2 separate regions of the Homo sapiens genome follow, and region 1 is linked to region 2. Evidence: promoter capture Hi-C in human tissues and cell types (Jung and others, 2019). All regions are on one chromosome and are shown on one strand. The core of a region is centred on a gene start or on the middle of the fragment in contact, and the rest is flanking DNA. Distances in the headings are between cores, read along the strand shown.

Region 1 (3,616 bases), core at 54-2,553, 130 kb before region 2:
CTCCCTCTTTGTTCACAAAGTGGATCCCCGGAAGGATGCCCACTCCACCCTGCTGTCCAAGAAGGAAACCAGCAACCTCTATAAGATCCAGTGTGAGTGGCTGCTGAGCTGACCAATTTCTGCCCTTTCAGGGGCTCTGGGGGCCTGTGAGGCTCCAGGAAGGAGATGGGAGGGTCTGGAATGTCCTCAGCTGTCCTGGGACCCCTGGCCTTGATGGGCTCCCCTCACCCCAAGTTCTTCCCTGTGTACACACCCTACCTCACTTCTTGTTCTCTGTCCTCTGTTGCAGTTCACAATGTAAAGCCTGAATACCTGGATGCCTACAACAGCCTCACGTGAGCACCCTGCATCCATACATCCCATCCCCTGCTTGGGTGGGGAACACACTTTCAGCAAATTTGCGGAACATCCTCCACCCTGTTCTTTTCTGTAGAAATCCAGGAGATGTAGATTTCTTTTATTTCTGCCTTTTTCTTTCTTTCTTTCTTTCTCTCTTTCTTTTTTTTTGAGATGGAGTTTTGCTCTCGTTGCCCAGGCTGGAGTGCAATGGCGCGATCTCGGCTCACTGCAACCTCTGCCTCCCAGGTACAAGCGATTCTCCTGTTCCAGCCTCCCAAGTAGCTCGGATTACAGGCATGCGCCGCTAAGCATGGCTAATTTTTTTGTATTTAGTAGAGACAGGGTTTCACCATGTTAGTCCGGCTGGTCGCAAACTCCTGACCTCAGGTGATCCACCTGCCTCGGCCTCCGAGTGCTGGGATTACAGGCATGTGCCACTGCGTTTGGCCCCATTTTCTTTCTTTCTTTTTTTTTTTTTTAAGAGATGGTCTCCAGGAGGCGGAGGTTCCAGTGAGCCGAGATTGCGCCATTGCACTCCAGCCTGGGCAACAAGAGCAAAACTCTGTCTCACACACAAAAAAGAGAGATGGGATCTCACTTTGCTTCCCAGGCTGGTCTCAAACTACTGGGCTCAAGCAATCCTCCTGCCTCAGCCTCCCAGTGTTGGGATTACAGGTGTGAGCCACTGTGCCCAGCCAGGATGTAAATTTCAGTGTCGGAAGTCCTGAGGGCCTCTTGCCTAGCTTCTGCATTTTAGAGATGGAGAGTCTGAGGCCCAGCCCCAGGGTCTGTTTGAACTGAGTTTGAACCCTTATCTCAGAGGCCCTGGTGGCTATGTGAACCCTGCCCCTCTCTGCACCTCCCCCACAGGGAGGCTGTGCTGCCCAAGCTTCACCTGGATGAGGACTACCCATGCTCACTCGTGGGCAACTGGAACACGTGGTATGGGGAGCAGGACCAGGCAGGTAAGGCGCTCACCTCCCTAGTGCCATTGCCACTGCCCAGCCCTGGCCTCCAGCACCTTTCACACCTGGCTGTTCTCCACTCCCTCTCCACAACAGCACCTGGTGGGGCTCTTACTAAAACCTCATCACCTCACTCCCCTGCTCAAATACCTGTCCTGGCTCCCCTGTGCCCTCAAGGTGACCCGTGAAGCCTGTGACTCCTTCCCGGCCCTGCCCCCAGCCTCATGGCACCAAATCCTCCATGCCTCGCTGTGCTGTCCCACCCAGGACTCAGTTCCTCAGATTGACAGTTTCACTCTTTAGTTCCAGACTACTGCTCATTCTCTTTCTTCTGCCTTAAGCATTATTTCTTGTTTGCCTGCTTTACCTGGATCACTGTCTTTTATTCTTTTTTTTTCCGAGACTGAGTTTCACTCTTGTTGCCCCAGGCTGGAGTGCAGTAGTGCAATCTCGGCTCACTGCAACCTCCGCCTCCCCAGTTTAAGCAATTCTCTTGTCTCAGCCTCCTGAGTAGCTGGGATTACAGGCATGTGCCACCACGCCCAGCTAATTTTGTATTTTTAGTAGAGACGGGATTTCACCATGTTGGTCAGGCTGGTCTTGAACTCCTGATCTCAGGTGATCCACCTGCCTCAGCCTCCCAAAGTGCTGGGATTACAGGTGTGAGCCACCGCACCCGGCCTTTTTTTTTTTTTTCTTTTTTCTTTTTTGAGACAGGGTCTCGCTCTGTCACCCAGGCTGGCAGATAGTGGCACAGTCTTGGCTGACTGCAACCTCCACCTCCTGAGTTGAAGATATTCTCCTGCCTCAGCTTCCCGAGTAGCTGGGATTACTGGCCTGTGCCACCAGGCCTGGCTAATTTTGTATCTTTAGTAGAGATGGGGTTTCACATGTTGGTCAGGCTGGTCTCGAACTTCTGACCTCAGGTGATCCACCTGCCTCGGCCTCCCAAAGTGCTGGGATTACAGGAGTGAGCCACCACTCCCGGCCTTTTTTTTTTTTTTTTTTTTTTTTGAGACAGGGTCTTGCTCTGTCACACAGGCTGGAGTGCAGTGGCATAATCTTGGCTCACTCGAGCCTCAATTTCCCAGGCTCAAGCAGTACTCCCACCTCAGCTTCCTGAGTAGCTGGGACTATAGGTGCGCTCCACCATGCTCGGCTAATTTTTGTGTTTTTTGGTAGAGACGGGGTTTCTCCATGTTGCCCAGGCTGGTCTTGAATTCCTGAACTCAAATGATCCTACCTCCTCGGCCTCCCAAAGTGCTAGGATTGTAGACATGAGCCACCGTGCCTGGCCTTTCAGTTTTATTCATTTTTAAATTTTCATTTATTTATTTATTTTTGAAACCAGGTCTTGTTACCCAGTGGGGAGTGCAGTGGTGTGATCACAGCTCACACAGCCTTAACCTCCTGAGCTTAAGCAATCCTCCTACCTCAGCCTCCTGAGTAGCTGGGACCACAGGTGCATGCCACAATGCCCAACTAATTTATTTTAAATTTTTTGTAGAGACGGGATCTCCCTATGTTACCCAGGGTGGTCTCAAACTCCCGGGCTCAAGCGATCCTTCCACTTTGGCCTCCCAAAGTGCTGGGAGTACAGGCATGAGCCACAGTGCCTGGACTATTCACTTTTCTATTTTGGCATAGATGTCACCTCCTCCTGGAAGGCTGCCGAGATTTCCTCCACGCGGGCTGGGTCAGGCACCTTCCTTAGCTCTCCAGGCCTCAGTAATTACCTCCTCACGCCCTGATCATGTACCCCTATAGCTGCCTGTTTAGTTGTCTGTCTCCATATATGGGTGAATCCCCAATATGCAGCACATATTTGTGGAATAAATAGGAGTTCTTCTTGTCTGAGCTGGTGTCTTACAGTCCCAGGGGCACCCCTAGCATGCCCCATCCCAGCCTAATAGACACATCAAAGTTGGCACCAGCTATAAGAACCCACACATGAATTTGGCTGACTCACAGCATCTCAGCCACTCAAAGGGACCTCAAATTCAGACCCACACTGTCCAAAATGATAGCCACTAACCACATGTAGTTATTTATTTATTTATTTTTTTGAGATGGAGCCTCGCTCTGTACTGTCACCCAGGCTGGGGTACAGTGGTGCAATCTTGGCTCACTGCAACCTCTGCCTCCTGGGTTCAAGTGATTCTCCTGCCTCAGCCTCCTGAGTAGCTGAGGTTACAGGCGTGTGCCACCACACTTGGCTAATTTTTGTATTTTTAGTAGAAACAGGGTTTCACCATGTTGGTCAGGCTGGTCTTGAACTCCTGACCTCATGATCCTCCCGCCTGAGCCTCCCA
Region 2 (3,449 bases), core at 935-3,434:
GTCTCTACTAAAAAACATACAAAAAAATTAGCCGGACATGGTGGCGGGTGCCTGTAGTCCTAGCTACTCGGTAGACTGAGGCAGGAGAATGGCATGAACCCAGGAGGCGGAGCTTGCAATGAGCAGAGATCATGCCACTGCACCTCCAGCCTAGGCGGCAGAGCGAGACTCCATCTCAAAAAATAAAAAAAAAAAGAAAGTTGTTCGTCATAACTGACTGATCGTAGAGAATAAGGGCAGTAAATACAAAGGTCAATAATTTAATGCATTGGGTATGTGGTTGATAGGTGAAGCTGCCAATTCTCATGGAGGAGGCAGTGTGATCTGGCCTAAAGAAAATTAATTGTCCAGAGCATTCTGAAAAAAAAATCTACAGAACATATGATCCTTCAAGTCAAAAAACTGATGATCACCAATATAGATTTTATAGATTACAGTAAGACTTGAGGAGACTGATTGCTGTTTGATGGTGAATTAGGGAATGAAATGAGATGAGTGGACATGGACAAGGAAGGAGGAAGAGGGTTCCAAACATGACTTAGGCAGGGTGAATCTGTCCTCCATATTTCAGCAGAGACACAGTCAGGTATGGGTAGGTGGATGAGTAGAGATCATGGGTGTCAGGGCAGAAGCCACCACCATTTATAGGTGTAATTCTTTGCCCAGGCTGACCATAACCTCTTCATTTAAATGTCCCTATTCCCCAGAGTTATGGAGAGTGATAGTATTTTCTGTAGCCAGGACCCCTGTTGAAGTCCATGGCACACCGATGAGGAGACCAGCGTCTGCAACTCGCCCCACTCACAGAAACAAACACCATAGGTGCTCCATTCCAAACTCTTCCCAACCCTGGGGTGAGGTTGTTTGGTACAGTGGGTGCCAATACTCACTGTGCATTAGAATTACCAGGCCCATTTAAATGTCAGAGTCCTGGGAACCTTTGCTAGAGAGAAATTCAAATTAAGTTGCTCTGTGTTTTTGCTACTCAGCAAAGTCCCCAAGCCAGCGGGATCAATCCTGAGACTTCCCAGTTCAGCATCTGCATTTTAACAAGATCCCCAGGTAATCTGAGCACACTAAGTTTAGAGAATCCCTTGTCTAACCCATGACATAGACATCAGGTTTTTTTTTTTGAGACGGAGTCTCACTCTGTCACCCAGGCTGGAGTGCAGTGGTGCAATCTTGGCTCACTGCAAGCTCCGCCCCCCCCAGGTTAACGCCATTCTCCTGCCTCAACCCCCAAGTAGCTGGGACTACAGGCACCCACCACCAAGCCTGGCTAATTTTTTGTATTTTTAGTAGAGACAGGGTTTCACCGTGTTATCCAGGATGGTCCCGATCTCCTGACCTCGTGATCCACCCGCCTCGGCCTCCCAAAGTGCTGACATTACAGGCATGAGCCACCATGCCCAGCCAGCCTTTTTTTTGGAGATCACCAGGTGATTCTGTATGTTGTCAGGGCTGAGAATCTGATGATGAAGAAGCATCTCAATTTTAGGTGCCAGACAGCAGCTAATCCCCATATGGAATGAGGGGCCAGTTGCACAGATGATTTTTCCTGGTCTGGTCGTAGGAAGGGGGCAGTGTATACAGATCCCTCACCTTGGAACTTCCGCATCCTTGGGTTCATCTGCAGAATCTTCTTCAGCTTGGGCTCCAGTTCCTTGATGTGGGAAGCCAGCCTCTCTAGCTGCCAACTGGGCCTGATTTTGTTCTTCTGAGAGACCATGGAACAGCAACAGCAAAGTAGATCCTCCCCATGGGGCTCCTTCTGCAGTGAATTGATGCACTTGAAGCAGACAGCGCATCCACACTCCAGGGACATTGGTTTCTCTAGATAGTCTGAGCAGACGGGACAGCTGCTTGCTTCTTGGAAGAGTGCAGCCATGTCCACTGCCAGGGGAAAAGTGCACAAGGGAAGAAAATTTCCGTGAGGTGAAAGCCTGTTAGTTGTGACAAGTGACAACCTTTTCATGCATAAAGGTATTGTGTCCCAGCTTTGTCACTTCTAGAACAAGACCATGAGTACAAACACTCAAGCACATCCCCCCACCCCCCGTCTTCAGAGATTTGAAGTTCTATTGGGAAAGAAAGTCACGAATCATCACTGTGCTCTGAACTGAGGTGGAGGAAGGGTCCATTCTACTGGTGACCCAGCAACTGAGCCTGAGCCAGTGACACGGCAGCACCCATGTGAGGAACAGCGAGCTGGGGTCATTTCACCTCCTCCTAGGGGAACCCCAGCAAGAGATTGATTGATGAACATAAGAATTAGGGGCTGGGAGGCCGGGCGTGGTGGCTCAGGCCTATAATCCCAGCACTTTGGGAGGCTGACGTGAGTGGATCATCTGAGGTCGTCAAAAGTTCGAGACCAGCCTGATGGGTGAAACCCCATCTCTACTGAAAATACAAAAGAATTAGCCAGGCGTGGTGGCACACGCCTGTAATCCCAGATACTTGGGAGGCTGAGGCAGGAGAATTGCTTGAACCTGGGAGGCAAAGGTTGCAGTGAGCCAAGATCCAGCCATTGCACTCCGGCCTGGACAACAGAGTGAGACACCATCTCAAAAAAAAAAAAAAAAAAAAAGAGAGGGACTGGATGCAGTAGCTCACATCTGTAATCCCAGCACTTTGCGAGGCCAAGGCTGGAAGATCCCTTGAGCCAAGGAGTTTGAGATCAGCCTGGGCAACACAGGAAGACCCCCTCTCTACAAATAATAGAAAAATTAGCAGTGAGCAGAGATCACACCAGGTCACTCCAACCTGGACAACAGAGTTAAGACCCTGTCTCACCAAAAAAAAAAAAAAAAAAATCACATCCTTCTCCAGCCTTGGAAATGAATACCAAATTGACTGCCACCACTCCTAGACTGGAGATCTGGGGATCCAGGGTGACTGGTTTTCAACTCTGAGGCAGCACTCAGACAGCCTTTGTTGAATTCATTAATTACGAATTTCTCTCATTCATCCCCCAAGGCATAACCCCCATTTCTAGGCATCTAAGGAGGAAAAACACACACACAGGCATGGGCTCACCTCTTCTGCTGGAAGCTCCTCTGTCCTCCAGCTGCTTCCACTGGGCGCTCAGGTCTTGTGCGGAAGGGGCACATGAGGGCGTTTTATTGGTGAGATTCCCACCTCCCACTGGGTCATGCCCTTCCACACCCTCTAACCTAATGAGGCTTTGATTTAATTATAACAGGGAATTAGGTTTTTACTGGTGATATATCTCCAGTTAATTGTAACTTTAGTAAATCCTTCATCCTGACAGTGTATTTTTCTTTCATATGAAGATAAGATTAAATTGCCTTTATATTAAATTAGGCTTAATGTACTAACTTCAAAAGCTTATTTTAGAGATGTTTCCATCAGTTGTCAGTAAAGATAATTCCTGTAATATGTTGTAGGCTTCAAGCTTTGCTTGGAAACCTGAAGTATTAAGTATGATT

Evidence for each region. Contacts are between HindIII fragments. The study calls those that stand out against the background at their distance.
Region 1: a contact is called between a fragment that was not itself captured here and the fragment with the promoter of RFPL1 in region 2, in 3 of the 25 tissues and cell types used here (mesenchymal stem cells, spleen and thymus).

What each region holds. Positions count from the first base shown.
Region 1 is chr22:29,566,881-29,570,496 of GRCh38, reverse strand. NIPSNAP1 (nipsnap homolog 1) reads left to right here. Exons shown (of 10, transcript NM_003634.4): 2 at 1-92; 3 at 290-335; 4 at 1,210-1,304. Among named protein-coding and RNA genes, the nearest start is that of NIPSNAP1, 12 kb to the left of the region's middle. RefSeq lists an enhancer at 1,023-1,317. The HindIII fragment of the contact is 3,498 bases long and covers 1-3,052 here.
Region 2 is chr22:29,437,318-29,440,766 of GRCh38, reverse strand. It overlaps RFPL1 (ret finger protein like 1), which reads right to left and starts at 2,184. Exons shown (of 2, transcript NM_021026.2): 1 at 1,603-2,184. The coding sequence starts at 1,975. It overlaps RFPL1S (RFPL1 antisense RNA 1), which reads left to right. Exons shown (of 1, transcript NR_002727.2): 1 at 1-3,449. The HindIII fragment of the contact is 25,280 bases long and covers 1-3,449 here.